Linked DNA regions of Homo sapiens: region 2 is linked to region 1. The links are contacts of gene promoters, found by promoter capture Hi-C in blood cells and fetal thymus (Javierre and others, 2016). All regions are on one chromosome and are shown on one strand. The core of a region is centred on a gene start or on the middle of the fragment in contact, and the rest is flanking DNA. Distances in the headings are between cores, read along the strand shown. Region 1 holds the start of RHOB (ras homolog family member B). Region 2 overlaps LAPTM4A (lysosomal protein transmembrane 4 alpha).

What was found. The method cuts DNA at HindIII sites, captures the fragments that hold promoters and counts their contacts. A CHiCAGO score of 5 or more calls a contact.
Region 2: a fragment that was not itself captured here is called in contact with the fragment with the promoter of RHOB in region 1 in 1 of 17 cell types (neutrophils); the score reaches 5.2 in neutrophils.

What each region holds. Positions count from the first base shown.
Region 1 is chr2:20,445,151-20,451,594 of GRCh38, forward strand. RHOB (ras homolog family member B) reads left to right here and starts at 1,924. Exons shown (of 1, transcript NM_004040.4): 1 at 1,924-4,290. The coding sequence starts at 2,316. The coding sequence ends at 2,906. RefSeq lists silencers at 1,633-1,882, 2,133-2,342 and an enhancer at 5,051-5,612. The HindIII fragment of the contact is 3,675 bases long and covers 1,193-4,867 here.
Region 2 is chr2:20,041,558-20,047,981 of GRCh38, forward strand. The region is part of intron 1 of LAPTM4A (lysosomal protein transmembrane 4 alpha); the gene reads right to left. Among named protein-coding and RNA genes, the nearest start is that of LAPTM4A, 6.9 kb to the right of the region's middle. The HindIII fragment of the contact is 940 bases long and covers 2,300-3,239 here.

The DNA.
Region 1 (6,444 bases), core at 674-3,173:
CCACGCCCAGGGATCACAGGCATGAGGTACTGTGCCCGGCCTGGTTAGATAATTGTTAAAGCGAAGTGTGGAACTGAGGTAAGAAACCCCCAGAAAATTCCACCTGCGTTTCTGAGCATTCGGGTTAATTCCCCACAGTCATTTACTGATCCTTGTAAATGCCAGGCATTGTGCTGGGTCTTCAAGATGCGGAGATAAGACAGAATCCTGGCCCTCCAACAACTGACAGAGACCGAGACAGAGACGGAGACAGGAGGCAACCACCTCCCGGTCATGTGGTGGGTCCCTCCTTTGCTGAAAAAACAGTTTGCAGACATTTCCCATGCAATGGATAGACAGAGCCCAGCCCATGCTGTTAATACTTTAGCACTCATGAGCCCCAGCATATGCAGCTCCTAGAGTTTGCCCCGCTCCTTCCCACCTTCCTGCTTGTGTTCAGGCTGTTTCTCCTGCCCGGGAGCCCTCCCCGACTCCCCTTTCCCCCTATCCCCTTCTTCCTCTTTTATCCGTAGAAATCGGTTGACTTGGGTCTTTCCGGATCACCGGTACTGTCATTTCATGCAGGATCTACAGGATAAATGAGTTCAGTCCTGGCGTGCATCAGGAGGCTACGCCCCAATAGAGGGGACACCCCCTAACCCGCTGTGCCCCATTTGCTAGCCCCTTACTCCTCCCCTCTTCTCCAGCCTCAAGCCTTTTCGTCTGCTCAGGGGTCTTGGGGTGGTTGGATTCTATTGAACCCGGAATATTGTACGTTCTATTGTACAATAGTGTATATTCTATTGTACATTCTATTGTACAATAGTGTATATTCTATTGTACATTCTATTGTACAATAGTGTATATTCTATTGTACATTCTATTGTACAATAGTGTATATTCTATTGTACATTCTATTGTACAATAGTGTATATTCTATTGTACATTCTATTGTACAAGTGTATATTCTATTGTACATTCTATTGTACAATAGTGTATATTCTATTGTACATTCTATTGTACAATAGTGTATATTCTATTGTACATTCTATTGTACAATAGTGTATATTCTATTGTACAATTTATCTCAGACAGTTCTCTGTTTTAAGAACCGGGATCAGAGTTCATAGTGAAAAGAGGGGCCGAAGGGGCTTCTTCCTGTCCGGTAACTTCCTCCAAGTGTTCGAGCCTCGACCTTCCCTTTCCGTTGTCAAGCTTGGGCCACTCCGCACCTCTTCCCTTAATCTTCACCTAGAGACCTAAGCTGGGGGTTGGGAAGGGTAGGGGCGGCGGGACTTGGAAGAGCCAGTTTGCAGCCAGCCGGTCGCCTCTCGGGTCCAAACCCGAGGCTGGCCCACGGCGAGTACCCGGGTGGGGCCCTAAACCACAGGAGGGGCCACCTCCAAAAGAAAAGAGAAAACACTCTTGTTTGGGAACAAAAGTGTGTGTGTGGGGTGTGTGTGTGTGTGTGTGTGTGTGTGTGTCTGTTTATTTAAAAACAAAACCACGTTAAAAGAGCTGCCCCTCCCCCACAGGCCCGACCACCCGCCGGGAGTTTGCCAGGAAGAGGGGCAATTCTGAATGGGAGTCGCCAACGCCCCACTGAGTGAAGCCTGTCTCGGAACCGCTCGCCCAGACCCTGGAGGCTCCAGACAGCCAGCTCCCGGACCCCGCGCGCAAACGCTGCGGCGAAGGAGGGGACCCGGGTACCGCCAGAGCCCCGCAGCGGCAGCAGCAGCGCGGACTCCCCGGTCGCTGCCTCTCCCAGCCCGGCGGCCTGGGCCGTCAATCAAGCTGGCCCTGCCCCGCCCTCGGGCTGCAGGGGGCGGCCAATCAGAGCTAAGCTCCGCAGCGATGAGCTCAGCCGGCTGGTTTCCCATTGGACGGCTATATTAAGAAAGTGGCCGGACTCTTTAAATAGCGGGCGCTAGGGCCGCAGCCCTCATCTGCCACCGCAGTCTGGTTGGAGCTGTTGTCTTGTATGCTCAGCGAGGCCCGGAGAGACCCGGGAGAGAGCTAGGCCGAGTCCACCGCCCGAGTCTGCTGCCCGAGCCCGCGTTACGCACAAAGCCGCCGATCCCCGGCCTGGGGTGAGCAGAGCGACCACCGCCCGGGAGCAGCGCGGCGAGACGCACGGTGCGCCCTATGCCCCCGCGCCCCCACCGCCCCCGCCGCGGCAGCCGAAGCGCAGCGAGAGAACGCGCCACCGCGGGGCCCGGGTGCAGCTAGCGACCCTCTCGCCACCTGCGCGCAGCCCGAGGTGAGCAGTGAGCGGCGAGCGGGAGGGCAGCGAGGCGTTCGCGGGCCCCCTCCTGCTGCCCGGGCCCGGCCCGCTCATGGCGGCCATCCGCAAGAAGCTGGTGGTGGTGGGCGACGGCGCGTGTGGCAAGACGTGCCTGCTGATCGTGTTCAGTAAGGACGAGTTCCCCGAGGTGTACGTGCCCACCGTCTTCGAGAACTATGTGGCCGACATTGAGGTGGACGGCAAGCAGGTGGAGCTGGCGCTGTGGGACACGGCGGGCCAGGAGGACTACGACCGCCTGCGGCCGCTCTCCTACCCGGACACCGACGTCATTCTCATGTGCTTCTCGGTGGACAGCCCGGACTCGCTGGAGAACATCCCCGAGAAGTGGGTCCCCGAGGTGAAGCACTTCTGTCCCAATGTGCCCATCATCCTGGTGGCCAACAAAAAAGACCTGCGCAGCGACGAGCATGTCCGCACAGAGCTGGCCCGCATGAAGCAGGAACCCGTGCGCACGGATGACGGCCGCGCCATGGCCGTGCGCATCCAAGCCTACGACTACCTCGAGTGCTCTGCCAAGACCAAGGAAGGCGTGCGCGAGGTCTTCGAGACGGCCACGCGCGCCGCGCTGCAGAAGCGCTACGGCTCCCAGAACGGCTGCATCAACTGCTGCAAGGTGCTATGAGGGCCGCGCCCGTCGCGCCTGCCCCTGCCGGCACGGCTCCCCCTCCTGGACCAGTCCCCCGCGAGCCCGGAGAAGGGGAGACCCGTGTCCCACAAGGACCCCACCGGCCTGCCTGGCATCTGTCTGCTGACGCCTCTGGCTTGCGCCAGGACTTGGCGTGGGCACCGGGCGCCCCCATCCCAGTGTCTGTGTGCGTCCAGCTGTGTTGCACAGGCCTGGGCTCCCCACTGAGTGCCAAGGGTCCCCTGAGCATGCTTTTCTGAAGAGCCGGGCCTCAGAGTGTGTGGCTGTGTGTCTGTTCGACTCCCCTCGCCCCATTTTCACCCCACCCCCGCCTCTGATCCCCGGGGGCGAGATTGGCGCGGGAGTGTGGCCGCGCCCCATCAGATGTTCGCCCTTCACCAGCGGGAGCTTGATATCCCTTGTCTGTAACATAGACCCCGGGTACTGCGGGAGGGGAGGGCTGCTGGGGAGGATGGGGGGATGTTATATAAATATAGATATAATTTTATTTTCGGAGCTAAGATGGTGTTATTTAAGGGTGGTGATGGGTGAGCGCTCTGGCCCAGGCTGGGCCAGACTCCCGCCCAAGCATGAACAGGACTTGACCATCTTTCCAACCCCTGGGGAAGACATTTGCAACTGACTTGGGGAGGACACAGCTTCAGCACAGCCTCTCCTGCGGGCCAGCCCGCTGCGAACCCTCCACCAGCTACCGGAGGGAGGAGGGAGGATGCGCTGTGGGGTTGTTTTTGCCATAAGCGAACTTTGTGCCTGTCCTAGAAGTGAAAATTGTTCAGTCCAAGAAACTGATGTTATTTGATTTATTTAAAGGCTAAAATTTGTTTTTTTATTCTTTGCACAATTGTTTCATTGTTTGACACTTAATGCACTCGTCATTTGCATACGACAGTAGCATTCTGACCACACTTGTACGCTGTAACCTCATCTACTTCTGATGTTTTTAAAAAATGACTTTTAACAAGGAGAGGGAAAAGAAACCCACTAAATTTTGCTTTGTTTCCTTGAAGAATGTGGCAACACTGTTTTGTGATTTTATTTGTGCAGGTCATGCACACAGTTTTGATAAAGGGCAGTAACAAGTATTGGGGCCTATTTTTTTTTTTTCCACAAGGCATTCTCTAAAGCTATGTGAAATTTTCTCTGCACCTCTGTACAGAGAATACACCTGCCCCTGTATATCCTTTTTTCCCCTCCCCTCCCTCCCAGTGGTACTTCTACTAAATTGTTGTCTTGTTTTTTATTTTTTAAATAAACTGACAAATGACAAAATGGTGAGCTTATGATGTTTACATAAAAGTTCTATAAGCTGTGTATACAGTTTTTTATGTAAAATATTAAAAGACTATGATGATGACATTTATAAAATGGCTCTTGTGGTTTAATAGTGTGTAAAAATACCCTTGTGAATTTGGAACAAGGGAGATATTCTCCTAGGCGAGATCCTTTCTTGCCAACTCCGTTTCCCTTATAGCAAATGTAGTAAATGAGGATGAAGTCCCTTTGAGAGCATGTGGGGGTTGGGTGACCAAGGGAGACCAGGTTGTTCCTGTCACATTCCTAGAGGAAGATGAGTGGATACCCCGACACCCAGTGCAAAAACTTTTGACCTATTATGTACTCAGTTCAATTGGGTGAGACCGAAGATCTTGATTTCATTCATCTGTGTGTCTTAAAAACACTTGTGTCTTTAAGTCTATTATGGGGCTTTGCTTATTCTTTGAGTCTTGGAAAGTTATCATTTGTGCATTTTAAATTTAGAAAACCTTTATTAATCGTTGGTGTGGGGTCACGCTATCAGGAAGCCTGTTTACTGGGTTCCCTTCAGGCCATCAAGGGGTTTACACAATATCCCAGGAAGTTGTAGGTTGTTATCTTTGGGCCTGGAGCTTCCAGAAGTGGGGGAGTTCAGATAAAGAGGTGATTTTTTAAAATTATCAAGCTTTGATCCCAATATGTCCTTTATTAAGTAACCTAGAATGATTTATTCTAAGTTCAGAGAAGGGCCATATTGTGGAAAGAACATTGGATGTTTTGGTGGTTCTTAAAGTTGGAGCTGCCACTTTTTGAGAGTCATGATAAACTCTAATCGTAGACACTTAGCTTTGCTGTAATGGTTCTTAGAACCAGACGGGCTGATTTATAGGTGGAGACCACATTAAAATTCTGCTGCAGGCATGATGGTTCAAACCTGCCAGCTCTCGCAGCTTCCAGGGAAGGTAGCTGAGAGTGTCAACTGCCTGAGAAGTGTGGTTTTCATTTTTTTTGAATCAGCATTTTCTGGGTTTCTAGCACTTAGTTGCCACCTTCTCCTTCCCCCTCCTCCCCATTCCCAGGACAAAGGTGGAGGTCTCCTTTGAAGTTGTTTGCTTCAAAGCTTGAGGCTTCTGTTTCCTGGTCTTACCCCAGACTCCAAGAGCTTTTGTTGAGTGAATAAAACCTGGTTGGTGGTGACCTTTCACCCACTTAAATGCTGGCAGTAACTGGACCTCCTGCTCAGCTGGGTGGGTGCATTGACTAACAGAAGGGGATTGTCTGGGCTCCTCCAGGAGCAGAGGGGAGAGGGGTCTATCCAGGCTGCCTGCTTTGAGCAACTGCCTAACTCCTTCCTCAGTCCCTCGGCCCCACTCACCTCCAGACTGCAGTCTCCTTTTTCATTTTAAAGACAAAACTTCCCATCGACAAACAGCATGTTTATTTGCAGCTTTTACAGCTAGCAAATCCTTTGGTACCAGGGAGCGCAGGACCCAGTGGGGGAAGAGTTCAGGCTTGGGCTGAATGCCCAGGACTCAGCTTTGCAACCAGCCAAGAGCCTGGAGGCCCAACTCCCTGAAAGGGCCTTTTCTGGGTTGCTCTGATCTGCCTGGTACCCATAACTGTCTGTGTTTTATATTATGGGCAGACAAACACTCAGATGACGCATGGCAGCCCAAGTTATGCTTGTTTGAAAATGCGTGGCATTTCATAATCCTGCCGGAACACACTCTTCTTGCTGCATTAGGATCCAACTGGAAAACATAAAGATGAATTGCTGTAGGCTGGAAAATCAATTAGGAAAAAGAGGTAAAACATCTGGTGTTACTCTTAGAATATGAAAATTCATTTTGCACATTTAAAATAAATGTGTTGAGTTGATTTAATTGCCTGTTGAACTGTTTCGTGGAAAATACTGGGAAGTTGCATTGATCCTGGGCATTTTGCAGTAAGGGGCATTGTCTTGAGTTCTCCTTTAATCTTAATCTTTAATCAATCTGGATTGTATTTCTAAGGTCTTTTTCACGTGAGTTTCAGTAGACTTGGAACTTCAGTTTTCAAAGTCAAGTGTGTATTAGAATTACACGGAGGGCTGGTTAAAACACAGATGGCTGGGCCTAACCCCACAGTTTCTGATCCAGTAGGTCTGGGCTAGGGCTTAAGAATTTGAATTTGTAGCAAGGTTCTAAGTGATGACAAGCTGCTGGTTGGGACCACACTTTGAGAACTACTGGCTTCGAATAAGGGAGAGTCCTTGTCAGTG
Region 2 (6,424 bases), core at 1,520-4,019, 400 kb before region 1:
TGGAGTCTCACTCTATTGCCCAGGGTGGAGTGCAGTGGTGCAATCTCAGCTCACTGAAGCCTCCCCTTCCTAGGCTCATGTGATCCTCCCACCTCAGCCACCTGGTAGCTGGGATTACAGGTGCCCACGACCATACGCGGGTGATTTTTGTATTTTTAGTAGAGACGGGGTTTCACTATGTTGGCCAGGCTGGTCTCTAATTCCTGACCTCAAGTGATACACCCAGCCCTAGCCTCCCAAAGTGTTGGTATTACAGGCGTGAGCCACCACGCCCGGCCTTAAATCTACCTTTTGAGATAATGTGCTCTCCCTTCTAAATAAGTGCTCCAATACCTGAAAACAGCCTCCAAATACTGTGTTCTCTAGAATAGACATGCAGATCTTTAAGCCATTCCTCTGACTAGCATGTTTCCTAGCTACCTATTTCCCTTTTGTCTTCCTCTTTACACATGCTCCAGTTTGATGGACATATATTAAAATGAGGTAAAGTCACCCTGGTCAGAACATAATGGGATCTCAGTTCTCATATTCTGGCTAACGAATTTCAATTAATGCAACCTGAAGTTGTACTGAGGTTTTTTGTTTTTGTTAGAAACAAGGTCTCACCATATTGCCTAGGCTGGTCTTGAACTCTTGGCCTCAAGTGATCCTCCTGCTTTAGCCTCCCAACATGCTGTGATTACAGGCATGAGCCACCGCACCCAGCCTGCATTGGCTTTACAAATTTTCTGAATATCACATGAGAGTAACTCCCTAAAACACCAAGTTCTTTTTCACACTTGATTGTGCTAAGCTCCCACCTGTACAGTTGGATTCAGAGGCCCAAGCATAGGCCTTAATATACCTGTAATTGAGTTTCATCTTATTACATTCTTGCCTATGAAGATTTTCTGGATGTGGATTCTGACACACTACAGATTTACTGTCTCAACTTCCTGAATTTAGGATCAGCATGTAATCAGTATTTCCATCTAAGTTACTAACAAAAGAGAACAGAGGTGAGGACAAAGCTGCCAGAGGCTGCCCCTTCCCATTAACTAGCAACTTCTGAATAAAATTGTTTAGCTCTTTAGAGGAACAGCCTGCTGAAATCCCATTATAATATCTGAATTTTCCTAGTCTCCCAGGGTTGTAAATCCATTTTAAAAGGAAATGAGTTGTGCCTGTAGTTGTTGGCCAATCCCTGTGGTATCCCAGGAGGCTTCACTGCATTTAAGTACTCAGAAAGAGTATTGTTAACGACTCAAGACAGAAATCTCACGTAGGATTGGAGTTAGGCTTCCTTATCTAGCATAGTAAAGTTCACAGAATTTGCCCTCCTTCCCTTTGTGAAAATGTGAACATCTGGAATTTTCAAGGGTTAAGTTCCTATCAGTAGTATTTTAATTTATTTAGTTTTTGAGATGGAGTCTCGCTCTGTCGCCCAGGCTGGAGTGCAGTAGCGCAATCTCGGCTCACTGCAGCCTCCACCTCCTGGGTTCAAGCGATTCTCCTGCCTCAGTCCCCGGGGTAGCTGGGACTTTTTTTTTTTTTGAGACCAAGCCTTGCTCTGTCACCCAAGCTGGAGTGCAGTGGCGCAATCTCAGCTCACTGCAGCTTCCACCTCTTGGGTTCAAGCAATTCTCACACCTCAGCCTCCCAAGTAGCTGGGACCTTTTTTTTTTTTTTTTTTTTTGAGACCAAGCCTCGCTCTGTCACCCAGGCTGGAGTGCAGTGGCACGATCTCGGCTTACTGCAGCTTCCACCTCTTGGGTTCAGGCCATTCTCACACCTCAGCCTCCCGAGTAGCTGGGACTACAGGCGTGCACCATTCAAGCCTGGCTAATTTTTGTATTTTTAGTAGAGGTGGGGTTTCGCCACGTTGGCCAGGCTGGTCTCAAACTCCTGACCTCAAGTGATCCACCAGCCTTGGCCTCCCAAAGTGCTGGGATTACAGGTGTGAGCCACTGTGTCGGCCAGCTATCGATAGTATTTTAAACAAACTATTATATACTTCTCTCCTGTTTCACCTTGAATGATAAACACACAGGAAATGCATTTTCCTTTTATCAGCTGAAGTCATTTCACTAACATCCGCTAGATAAGCAGATCAAGTTTTATTTTAGGGTAGGTGATCTAAACAATGCCACAATATGAAATTTGGAATCAACCAATATTTATTGAGGATATGCTTTATGACATGTGTATTTACGTGTATTACTTCACTTATTCCTCACAACAACCCGTGAAGTAAGTATTACCAAAGCCTATGTGTAGATGGGGAAACTTAAGATTCAGTAAAGCTATATAACTTGTGTTAAGCTTGCTGAGCTGACAGATGGGAGAATCAGGACACAAGTCTGGTTTTTAAGACATCCTCCTTCTCAGCACTACGTGATTATTAATAAACATTCCCCAGTAACTCCTATTTTAAGGTCTTTCCCAAAGAAACCATTATCTAAGGCTATAAAATGTTTAGACTTTACTGTCTATGTTCAGCAGCAAGCCTCTTTCCTTGCATTGTTCAGAGGCAAGGCATGATATCTTTCAATTCTTGAGAGGACTTACCAGGAACAATCACTTTTGCAAGGTGGCTCTCCCCAGTTGAAAGCTGATTTTTTTTGTTGCCCACATTTGCTGCAATGGGTTTTGGCCAGCGTGTGTGGTGTATGAGTATGAGCTAATACAACTAGGTGAATTAATTACTGAACTATCAGATATATCTACTAAAACGTTATATGTTCTGTGTATGGAAATCAGTTTGAAATCAATTAGGCAAACTCTTCTTTGCTAAACACAGCATAGTCACAGTGAAAAAGCTCTCTGCGGTACAGAAATTCCTTTGTCAAGAAAAGCATGCAAACCCAATTACTAAATGAAGGGAATGACATGCCAAAAACATTTAGGAGTTCTATTTTCCCTTCTTAAATATTTTTATTACATGAAGGATTTCTAAAAATCTCACACCTATAGTCCCAGCTACTTGGGAGGCTGAGGTGGGAAGGATCGCCTGAGCTCTGGAGACCAGCCTAGGCAACAATACTAAGTCTGTCTCTTAAAAAACAAAAGAACTCTTCACTTTTCTTCTCTTCCATGGATAAGTCACACGCTCATCCACTATTATCTTCTTTTAGTACTAGAGACACTTCAAGTTTAATTTCACTGTGGGTCATACCACTAAATATTAAACAAAATAAATCGTAGGGCCAATCAGAAGGACCAAGAAACAGTGAAATAAATTTCAATGCTACTTCATTAAAAGCTTTTTCCAAATCTTCTTTGAGTTAATTATATTCCATTAGATCACATCATTTCATTAGAACCCCAACTTACATCTTAAAGTATTACACTGGAAAACCCATCCTTGTGACTTAAAAAAATTTTTTTTGTAGAGATGGAGTCTCACTATGTTGTCCAGTCTGGTCTTGAACTCCTGGCCTCAAGTGATCCTACTGCATTGGCCTCCTAAAGTGCTAGGATGACAGGCACGAGCCACCGCTCCTGGCATCCTTTGATCTTAAAGATATTCACCAACGAACGCCTACCTTGTGCTCACATGTAAGCCCTGGCAACTTATCTCTGATTAAAGTTGATATTTCTAAATTACATGTTTAGCTTTTCAAAAAATACATAAAATTAACTGTAATCTTACAATACAAAATTTCTCTGAAAATATCCAACTATGTACTAACTATTACAAATATTTATTCCTGATTCACTTTTTCCTTTCACTGTATTCAGGAAAGAAAGTTAATAAAAATGTAATTTAAAAAGAATGATTAAGCTGGGGACAGTGGTGTGTGCCTGTAGTCCCAGCTGGTCAGGTGCCTGAGGTGGGAGGATTGTTTGAGCCCAGTTCAAGGCTGCAGTGTGCTATAATCATGCCATTGCACACCAGCACAGGCAACATAGCAAGACCCCATCTCTTTAAAAAAAAAAAAAAAAGATTAAATTATTAACTTCTAAACTTGGCAATATGGAGAGGTATAGAATGCAGCAATATTTTAGCAGCATGGGCTGCGGATTCACCACTCAATGTGTTAACAGTACTGTAAATTTAATCAGTCAAATCAGGTGGTGTGCATTGTTTTTGAAAGCTTCTACATCTTATGTAAGTGTGTACAATAAGAAATCTGTTAGATTTGACTTGTTACAAAATAACTGTATCAGATCCATGGAAGCACAGGGCCTGAAGAGAGGAATTCTTTGTTTTCTTCTTTCACTGCCACACCTATTCCAGAAGATTCTCTGGAGACTTTAAAAAAAAAATCATTTTTCAGTTTTCCCACAGTAATTTGCCCAGAGCCAGTATCTACTGAGATAATAATTAAAACAGTGTGTCTGGTTTAAGGAGGCATCCAGATAAGGGCTTCCCATGCAGAGAAAGCACCCACAGGAGGGTCAATCTACAGAACTAAGCAAAGCCTGTTATCTGATAAAGATCAAAATTGACTATCTTTAAAACGTTTTTTAGCCATAAAAAAGGATTAGTTCATGTCCTTTGCAGGGACATGGATGAAGCTGGAAACCATCATTCTCAGCAAACTATTACAAGGACAGAAAACCAAACACCGCATGTTCTCACTCATAGGTGGGAACTGAACAATGAGAACACTTGGACACAGGGTGGGGAACATCACACACCTACACCAGGGCCTGTCAGCGGGTGGCGGGCTGGGGGAGGGATAGCATTAGGAGAAATAACTAATGTAAATGATGAGTTGATGGGTGCAGCAAACCAACATGGCACATGTATACCTATGCAACAAACCTGCACGCTGTGGACATGTACCCTAGAACTTACAGTATAATTTAAAAAAAAAAAGTTTTTTGTTGTTGTTTACTGTTACATGCAGATACAACTGAGTATTCACAATATTTTTTGGAGGAGACATTCATTCAACAAATGTGTAATGAACACCTCAAATGTTTTAATTAATAAGTTAGCCATCACACACATTTTATTTTGAGACAGGGTCTCATTCTGTCACCCAGGATGGAGAGTAGTTACTGCGATCTAGGCTCACTGCAACCTCTGCCTCCCCGGCTCAAGTGATCCTCCCACTTCAGCCTCCCCTGTAGCTGGGACTACAGGCATGCACCACCACACCATGCCCCGCTAATATATATATGTATGTATGTGTGTGTGTATATATATTTTTATATGTTTTATATATATTTATATATTATATATCTATATATAAATATATATTATATAAATATATATATAATATAATATATAAATATATATATAATATAATATATATTTTTTTTTGGTAGAGAGGGGGTTTCGTCATGTTGCTCAGGCTGGTCTCGAACTCCTGGGCAATCCACCTGCCTTGGCCTCCCAAAATGCTGGGATTACAGGCGTGAGCCACTGCCCTTATAAAGACATCACCCTCTTCCCTCCAGGAGAACATCTTGCTGTAGAGAGAAAAATAAGAGAAAAGGACAATCCTACCAATGTGTACTGAGTACTATTTAATAAGTACATACAAGAAGGATCCAGAAACTTTTGCAGGTGCACCGTGAGAAAAACAGATCCCCCTGGCTAGGAAGTAAAGAAAGCTTGGCTGGGCATGGTAGCTCACGCCTGTAATCCCAGCACTTTGGGAGGCCAAGGCAGGCAGATCATGAGGTCAGGAGATCGAGACAATCCCGGCCAACACGGTGAAACCCCGTCTCTACTAAAATACAAAAAATTAGCCCGACATGGTGGCGGGTGCCTGTAGTCCCAGCTATTTGGGAGGCTGGGGCAGAGGAATCGCTTGAACCTGGGAGGCGGAGGTTGCAGTGAGCCGAGATCGCACCACTGCACTCCAGCCTGGTGACAGAGCAAGACTCTGTCTCAAAAAAGAAAAAAAAAAAAAAAGGCCGGGCGCGGTGGCTCACGCCTGTAATCCCAGCACTTTGGGAGGCCGAGGCGGGTGGATCATGAGGTCAGGAGATCGAGACCATCCTGGCTAACAAGGTGAAACCCCGTCTCTACTAAAAATACAAAAAATTAGCCGGGCGCGGTGGCGGGCGCCTGTAGTCCCAGCTACTCGGGAGGCTGAGGCAGGAGAATGGCGTGAACCCGGGAAGCGGAGCTTGCAGTGAGCCGAGATTGCGCCACTGCGGTCCGCAGTCCGGCCTGGGCGACAGAGCGAGACTCCGTCTCAAAAAAAAAAAAAAAGGAAAGTTTTACCACGAAAACATGTGAGCTAACCATTAAATTATCTGGACTTGGCAAAATGTTGTTAATGGTTGAAGCTGGGTGATGAATAAATGGGAGGTTTTCGTACTACTTCACTACTTTTGTATGTATGAAAATTTCCTTAATAAAATTTTTAGAAAGTGACTTGGGAGGACAGCAACATTTCAGGGAGAAGGAATAGCATATGCAAAGGCAGAGGCACAAAACTTCCTTAGTTTAAGGAAGGAAACTAACAAATATAAACAAGCT